Linked DNA regions of Homo sapiens: region 1 is linked to region 2. Evidence: promoter capture Hi-C in 16 types of primary human blood cells and fetal thymus (Javierre and others, 2016). All regions are on one chromosome and are shown on one strand. Each heading gives the region's core, a stretch centred on a gene start or on the middle of the fragment in contact. The rest is flanking DNA. Distances are from core to core; before and after follow the strand shown.

Region 1 (3,924 bases), core at 161-2,660, 590 kb before region 2:
AAGTGGGGGTAATTGAATTATGGGCGTGGTTCCCCTGTGTTGTTCTCATGATAATGCATTAGTCTCATGAGAGCTGATGGTTTTATAAGCATCTGGCATTTCCCTTGCCTGTACTCATTCTCTCTCCTGCTGCCCTGTGAAGAGGTGCCTTCCGCCTCATGATTGTTGTTTCCTGAGGTCTCCCCAGCCATGCAGAACTGTGAGTCAACTAAACCTCTTTTCTTTACAAATTACCCAGTCTCGGATATTTCTTCATAGCAGCACGAGAATGGACTAATAAAGTATAAAATAAAATAGAGGCCAGAGAGGAGGATGTGCTAAACACAAGAGAAACATTTTGAAAGTGAAATTCAAGCCTCCAATTAGAGTGAGAGAAAGAAAACAAAGTTATCTTAGTTTAGAAAGACCGAGAATCACTTTCTCTACCCTCATCCCCACTAAAAACCAACAATTATGAGCAGTATTTTAGATAAGTATAGCACAGGGTGGTTATATAGCTCTGAATTTTTTTAAACTGAGTTATCTTTGAGATATTTTCCCTCTTTGACCTCTCTTTCGAAATTAAAACCTCGTTCTTCTTAATGATTTCCAGGCTTCGTCATCCATCTTCTCACCTTCTCCAATCCACTCTAAGGCAAACCTTGGCTTCTCTTATTTTGGTCCATCATAAATCTACCTTTATATGACTTATTAAATTAAGCATAACTATTAATTAAAATTCAGTCAACATTAATAGGTACTTGGTAAAATATGTTGAATATTCTTTTTTCAAGGTTATAAAATGATATTAAACACAAGGAGAAAAGTGCTTGTTTGTGAGTCTAGCTGGTGCTGTTGTTTCCAGGTTCTGAAGAATCTAAATATATTGGCTCTTTCTCACACTTGGCTACTTGTCTTGGAACTTTTAACTAATGAGTTAGAGAAACTCATTGCAGCCAATGAAATTACAGTGATATAAAAATAACTACGCTAGGATGTTTCAAAGAAAACAACTTGTAAGAAACATCAGAAATTAGGACATCGAATTCAATGTTGAGAAATCATTATATATAAACTCTTGGAAGTTGAATTCTTTGTTGTAGAGATCTAGGTTGCATATACCACTAAGTGAAGACTTTTTGTAAGATTATACAAATATAAACAAGCGTGTTTGGTAGAGGCTTGGATTTTGATATAGCTGCAAAGCCATCCTTGATTAGAAGCTAGTACATTTAGGCAAATTTCTGTTTTTAAGGGTACACCCTTATAAGTGGCTAGTAAGTTTCAAGGATTCCCTTAATCTGATAGCATCTTACGCTTCATGCAAATACAAGGGGCATTTTCATAAAAGAACCCTTTTGTCTGGGTAAAGATGATATTTTTCTTTGCACAAGTATGGATGTATAGTTGAATAAAGGGAAAACACAAAGTGATGTGAAGTTAATGCATTTTCTTCTAAATATATACATGTGATGGACAAATGGAATATAGATAAATTGGTTCTATTTCTAATTATCAGGGTTCATCAAGTCTCTGCCTGCTTCCCTTCTGGGAAACAGGTAGATAGTTTATTTCAACATTATCACTTATGTAACAGATGGATCTCACTGTGTGTTGCGAACAAAAAGCAAAGTACAATTCCCAATTAGTTGTACTCTGGTCATGTGTCTTTCCGATAGCCATGTATGGCCTGTAGCCCTATTAAATATTTTTGGAGAACACCATAGAATACTTTCTCATATGGTTATTTTTATATATTACAATACATGCATATTTATTATATGTGTAAAGTAACAAGGCAGTCAAAATGTACATATATTTAAGACTTCAAAAGCATAAATCTCTCTATTAAGGGTAACATTCTTTGGTCCCATTACTCCGTATTTAAAATATAATCATTATATGCTGCAAGAGGGGTTTTTCTCCAGGGAAAACTTACTTTTTGAAATTTCAAATGACTCAAACTTGACTGGCTGAATATAGTTCACCAGATTAGACATTTCTTCTGTGGCCATAGCCTCACTTCCAGCAGTCCCCTGGAAGTAGGAATAAAAAAGAAAACATTTCCAGAGTCAGCATTATATTATCAGTTATTTTCCCAGGAAAATGACAACATGATTCAAGCATGCAGAAAATCATCCCTCCCTTTCTGAAAATTACAAAATGAAAATTCATTACAGGAGAAAGGCAACAGCAACACCTCATTTTATAAAAGGGAGGGAGGAAGGGAGGTGGGAGGTTGAATGGTGGCTGGCAGCATGGCCCCAACATAATCACTCCCTATCCCCTGCCCCCTCCTTTCCATTTAGAAATGCCTGATCTTAGCCCCTCTGCAGGCCTCAGACTCAGATCCTGCATTTTACTAAGGTCATTGGAATGCCCATCAAAGTTTGAGAAGCACTGAGCTATAGCTCATCTTCCATTGCAGGGTGTCCATAGGTGTTGTCTAAGGTTAGTAATTTTTTTTAACATTTATTTTAAATTCAGGGCTACACGTGCAGGTTTTTTTTTTTATATAAATAAACTTATGTCACTGGGGTTTGTTGTGCAGATTATTTTGTCACCCGGGTATTAAGCCTGGCATCCATTAGTTATTTTTCCTGATCCTCTCCCTCCTCCCACCTCCACCCGCAGGTAGGCCCCATGTCCCTTTATGTGTCCATGTGTTCTCATCGGATTCGTAAATTAAGAATTCACTGTACAATAAGAAAATTGTTAGGTAGGTGACCACCAAATGAAGGGAAAATTGATAATAATAATAAAAAGATTGCTTTGTGGAAATGGGCAGGGGTGGGTAAACAACTGCTTTCCTTCATCAACATTCTTCCCTCCCTCCCTTCTTGGCTCCTGATGTGTCTTAGACAAGCAGGAAAGCATAGTGCAGGGATTAATGGCTCGCGTTCTAGAGCCAGCCTGCCTGATTTCGAATCCCAAGTCCACTAGTTAGAAACCGGGCAACCTTGGGCAACTTACTTAATTGCTCTGTGCCTCACTTGACTCATTTGTAAAATTAGGATAAAATCAGTTCCTACAGCATATAGGGGTTTTTGATTAAAAAATAAGTTAATTTATGTGAAGGAGCTTAGAACAGTGCCTGGCAAGTGGTACTACAATCTCATGTTGCTTTTGCTATTATTAGCTATGACATATTACTTTGATAGAGTTTTTAATGAAAAAGAAAACCAATAATGCAGTGTTGGCACAAAATGGGCCTCTGTAGAGTGATCTAATATTGTCTCACATTTTTAGAAGAGAGAATGCATGGAGATGAGTTTCTTTTAAAAATTCTGGTAGTAATATTTGGGTCAAATGTTAACTGGGAAACATTCATTTGCAAATGGACTATCCAATTAGTAAGAGAGTTTAAAAATTATTTAGAATCACTGATCAGAAATTATACACAATTGAAATCATTCTCAGGAACATATACTTTGCCAGACATGGTAAGCTGTTTTCCTCCTGGAAATCAAAAATTGAAATGTAGTGAGGGAACATAATTAAGCAAAACTTTAGACATTAAAAAATAATTCTAAGAGGAAGGACATCAAGTAAGAGCAGCTTATTTTTTGTTTCATTTTTACTAAATTGTAGAGCTACAAGCGTTGAGACAGAACATATCTAACAAATTTGAAAGCAGATTCAATATAAACTTTAAAATACGTATTTTTAAAGAGAGACAGTGTCTTGCTCTGTTTTCTAAGCTGGAGCACAGTGGTGTGATCATAGCTCACTGCAGCTTCAAATTTTTGGACTCAAGCCATCCTCCTGCCTCAGCCTCCCTAGTAGCTGGAACTACAGGTGTACACCACTGCACCTGGATGTGTTTTATCTTTCATTTTAACTTGTTTTTTTAAAGGCGTGAGGTCTCTCTCTGTTGCCCAGATTGTTTCAGTATAAACTTTTGGTAAGACAAAATTCTAAAATTCCAGTTGATCTGCTTCTGAT
Region 2 (3,726 bases), core at 640-3,139:
AACATTCAGTACAATTAGACTGGAACAGAAAGAAGAAAAGTGTGAAGCCCATGGTAAAAAGATGTATGTTTACATCCTTGCCTACAGCATTTAATAATTGGCACGAGCTTTCAAGGAAGCTGTGGTTCATACTCCAAGTTCCGTTTGCGCTTCCAGCTGGACAAAATATAGACACAGACGCACTCAGCTAAGTAATTGGATTCACTACCTGGAATATTTAAATTGTTTTCAGACACTGGAAAATGGCTTAAGAAGATTAAAGAAAAATACCCTAGAGGATAACAGGCTATAATTTACTAGGTGGAAAATCTTTTCGGCAAGAAGAACGCCTCATTCTCCTATAATTCCTTCTGATTAAGAGATGTATTAGTCATTTGGACTTAAATTTGCTTAGAGCCTGGCAACTCGGGTTTATTTCAGTAGGTTTTTCTTATCGAACCTTTAGAATGACACCCAGGACATAAAACTGATACCATAATGTTCTCCATCCGAAGATTCGCATGTTTTCAGCTGGATAACTAATTTACGTGTTTTGAAGACAACTGGGGTAGAGGGGAAGGGGAAGTCATTTGAAGTCCTGGGGTCTGGGCCGCTCGTAAAGCATTAGAGACCCCGGCGCTGGGCTAGGCTCTGCCCTACCTGGCAAACGGTGCAGGTAAATCGTGGGGCAAACTCTCAACCTGTCTATTTCAGGCAGAAGACTCCAATCAGCTCAGTTCTCAAAAGTCAGCCCTCCCCACTTGCCTGCAGGCCCATGAGCCCTCCAGGACCCCTCAAGGGCCCCCATTCTGTTCACGCCCTCCCCAGATGTGTCCCCGCAGCCCTTTTCAGGGACCCTCACTCCGGAGCCAGGCGCTGAAGTTTGGCATCAACGACCACCTGTTGGCTGGACCGTTGTGTCCTCCGCCGCCTTGGCTCCCACAAAAGCGCCAAGAGGGTTCGCAATCACTAAAGTGTTTTGAACTTCAGGTCCTTCCTTCTTGAAATCGGGCAAAAGAGGTAATAGGGGGTGCGTCCGCAGGCGGAGAGGGACGCGATTTGTTCACACCAGGCGCTTTCCAGTTGGTCCCAACTTCACACTCCCTACTTTCCGAACTCTCAGGACCTGTCACCAGGCAAAGCTTGCCCCTCCCTCTCCACTGGCCCAAAAGATGTAAGACCCTCAGGGGGCGCCTGCCAGACCCAGAAAGGATGGCAACTACTGAAGCCCGATGAAACAGGAGCGCGCGCAAAGCTTCTGCCCTTGGACATCCGCTTTGGCAGATGCCAACCTGTGCGCCCGAGGCTGCCCCTGCCCGCTCCCAGTGCGCCCATTGCATAACGCGCCCCTTGCCCCACCCCCACGACGCCCGCCCTGCCCGGTGCCCGAGCCAGCGCCCCGACTCGGGCCGCCCCAATACTTACATCATCCCACTTGACGAATTTGGTGCCCTTCTTGAGGCTGTCGGACACGCACACGGGCTTGAGTTGCAAGGCGTGCACTCCGGGTTGAGCCCCGGCCATCTGGGCTCATCTGGGCTCCGGGCGGCCCGGGCGAGCGCGGCAGGGACTGGGGACCGTGCGCGGGGCGCGGGGCGCGGGGCGCGGGCTCCTTTCTCTGCTCCGGAGGCGCTCGACTCTGCTCCCCGCCGGCCTCCCCGGCCTCCCGGCCTCCGCACCTCCCTCCGGCGCCGCTCAGCAGGCAGAGCGCGCGGGGGCGCAGCGCCCGGCCATGCCCCGGGCGGGACGCGAGGTCTGGAGCCCGCGGTGGATGAGGAGCCTCGGAAGGCGAAGAGAAGCCGAGCCGGTCAGCCGAGGCTGCCAGTCGCGGCGGATTCTGCTCCTCCGCCGCCGCCGCCTCAAAGCGCACCATTCAGCACATCCTCTATACACAGAGGGAGAGAGCGAGTGACACACGCCCGGCGCCCCCCCTAACCGCTCTTTTCCCTCCTCCCTCCTCCTCCCCCCCGCCCCCCTTCCCCGCCACCCTCGCTCGCTGGGTCCTTCCTTCCCCCCGCGGCTCCCAGCCCAACTTTGCACGCTGGGTCAGGCGCCAGGAAGCGGGGACGCAGCGGCACCTCCTGGCTCCCGAGCCCCATTGCAGCCAACGCCTGCCTCCCGCATTCGCTCTGAGCATGCCCCGTGCCCTGGTTGCAGAGGTGCTAGGGGTCCCCAGGAGCCTTACGCTCTTTGGGGTTTTCTTGGGAATTTGGGCTCGAGCTCCGGAGCGTCTTTGGATCCCAACTGGCTGGGAAAAGGGGCCCATCGGGAGGAACCAAAGAGGCAACCCCTGGCTTTTGGCTCTAGCTGGAGCTCTCCAGCGCCAGCCACAAACCAGCTTTTTGAAGAGAATTATCATTTATCAGCAGAGAAGAGCGCAGTTGAGAGGCTCTTTGAGGAAACCTGGCCGCGCCTGAGAGTTTGCAGCGCGCTGATCTTGAAACCCGGGCAAACGGTTACGTTGTGCTTTCGAGACAGAAAGCCCATCCTAAAGAAAGCAAAGGTTTTATTTTCCGAGGAAGAAAGAGGGTGCCCTCTCCCGCTCCTCTCCTTGAGTGTGTAGGATGTGTGGCGGGTGGGGGAGAGTCTTATTAATAGAAACTTGCTCATTTAGGAACATAGGTCCAGGAATGTTTGTCTTCACTCCTTCCACAAACATTTCTCAATTCAAGAAAGAAAGGGAGGGAGGGAGGGAAGAAGGGAAAGAGGAGGACCAGAATGGATAAAATTTTAAAGACTGGTAATACCAAATGCTTGAAAGGATGTGGAGCAACTGGAACTCTTTTTTTTTTTTTATTAAGGAGAGAGAGGAGAGGGAGAGAGAGAGTGAGTGAGTGTGAGAGAGAGAAAGAGAGAGAGAGAGAGACACACGCGGGAGGTGGGGGGGCGGAGAGAGAAATAGCTTGGAACTCTTGTTCATTGCTGGAGGGAATATAAAATAGTAAAACCACTTTGGAGAATAGTTTCTTATAAAGTAAGATATTTACTTATCATACAACCTAGAAATTCCACTCCTAAGTATTTGTCCAAAAGAAATGAAAACGTTCAAGTCTGCAGGGACTTGTAAAGTGATGTGAAGAACTTTCTTCTTAGTAGCCTGCAAATGTCAATCAACAGGTGAATGGATAAACAAACTGTGGTATGCCCAAATATTGGAATACTATTCCACAATAAAAATGAGTGGGCATGCAAGATCAGGGATGAATCGCGACTTTAAGCTTTGTAAAAGAAGCCGGACACGATAGACTGTATGCTGCCTGATTCCATGTGTAGGAATTGCAGAATAGGCAAGATATTCTATGTTGACAGAAAGCTTGCCTGTGGCCAGGGATAGGTAGAGATGGACAGGGAAGGGCTACGAGCACCTGATGAGCATGTCGGAAATGTTCTATATCGTGTGTGTGTTTATCAAAACTTGTAAGTTCTGTAAGTACGCCTAAATTGAGTGCAGTTTGTTTTAAATAAATTATATCTCAAAAAGGTTGATTTTTAAAAAGAAGAAAGAATACGAAGAGAGAAAAATGGAGAGAAACACTACATTCTCTTAATCCTTCATTCTCCCTGTTCTCTGCCCTCAGGACTCCAAGGCCCAATGCTTATGAACTCAGTCAAAAGATTACCAAAATCCAATACAGAAATTTGCTATTAAATATTTCAATGCATTTAAAATATACTTATTGGTAGCCAGCTGTATACTAGCCACTATTGTAATCACCATGGATAACCTGGTGAACAAGACCCATGACT

Evidence for each region. Contacts are between HindIII fragments. The CHiCAGO score rates a contact against its expected background, and 5 or more counts as called.
Region 1: a fragment that was not itself captured here is called in contact with the fragment with the promoter of PLCB1 in region 2 in 4 of 17 cell types (neutrophils, M1 macrophages, M2 macrophages and 1 more); the score reaches 7.7 in neutrophils.

What each region holds. Positions count from the first base shown.
Region 1 is chr20:8,722,747-8,726,670 of GRCh38, reverse strand. PLCB1 (phospholipase C beta 1) reads right to left here. Exons shown (of 32, transcript NM_015192.4): 16 at 1,919-2,015. Among named protein-coding and RNA genes, the nearest start is that of RNU105B, 110 kb to the left of the region's middle. The HindIII fragment of the contact is 7,086 bases long and covers 1-3,924 here.
Region 2 is chr20:8,130,429-8,134,154 of GRCh38, reverse strand. It overlaps PLCB1 (phospholipase C beta 1), which reads right to left and starts at 1,889. Exons shown (of 32, transcript NM_015192.4): 1 at 1,405-1,889. The coding sequence starts at 1,503. RefSeq lists a silencer at 1,664-1,803. The HindIII fragment of the contact is 1,963 bases long and covers 1,237-3,199 here.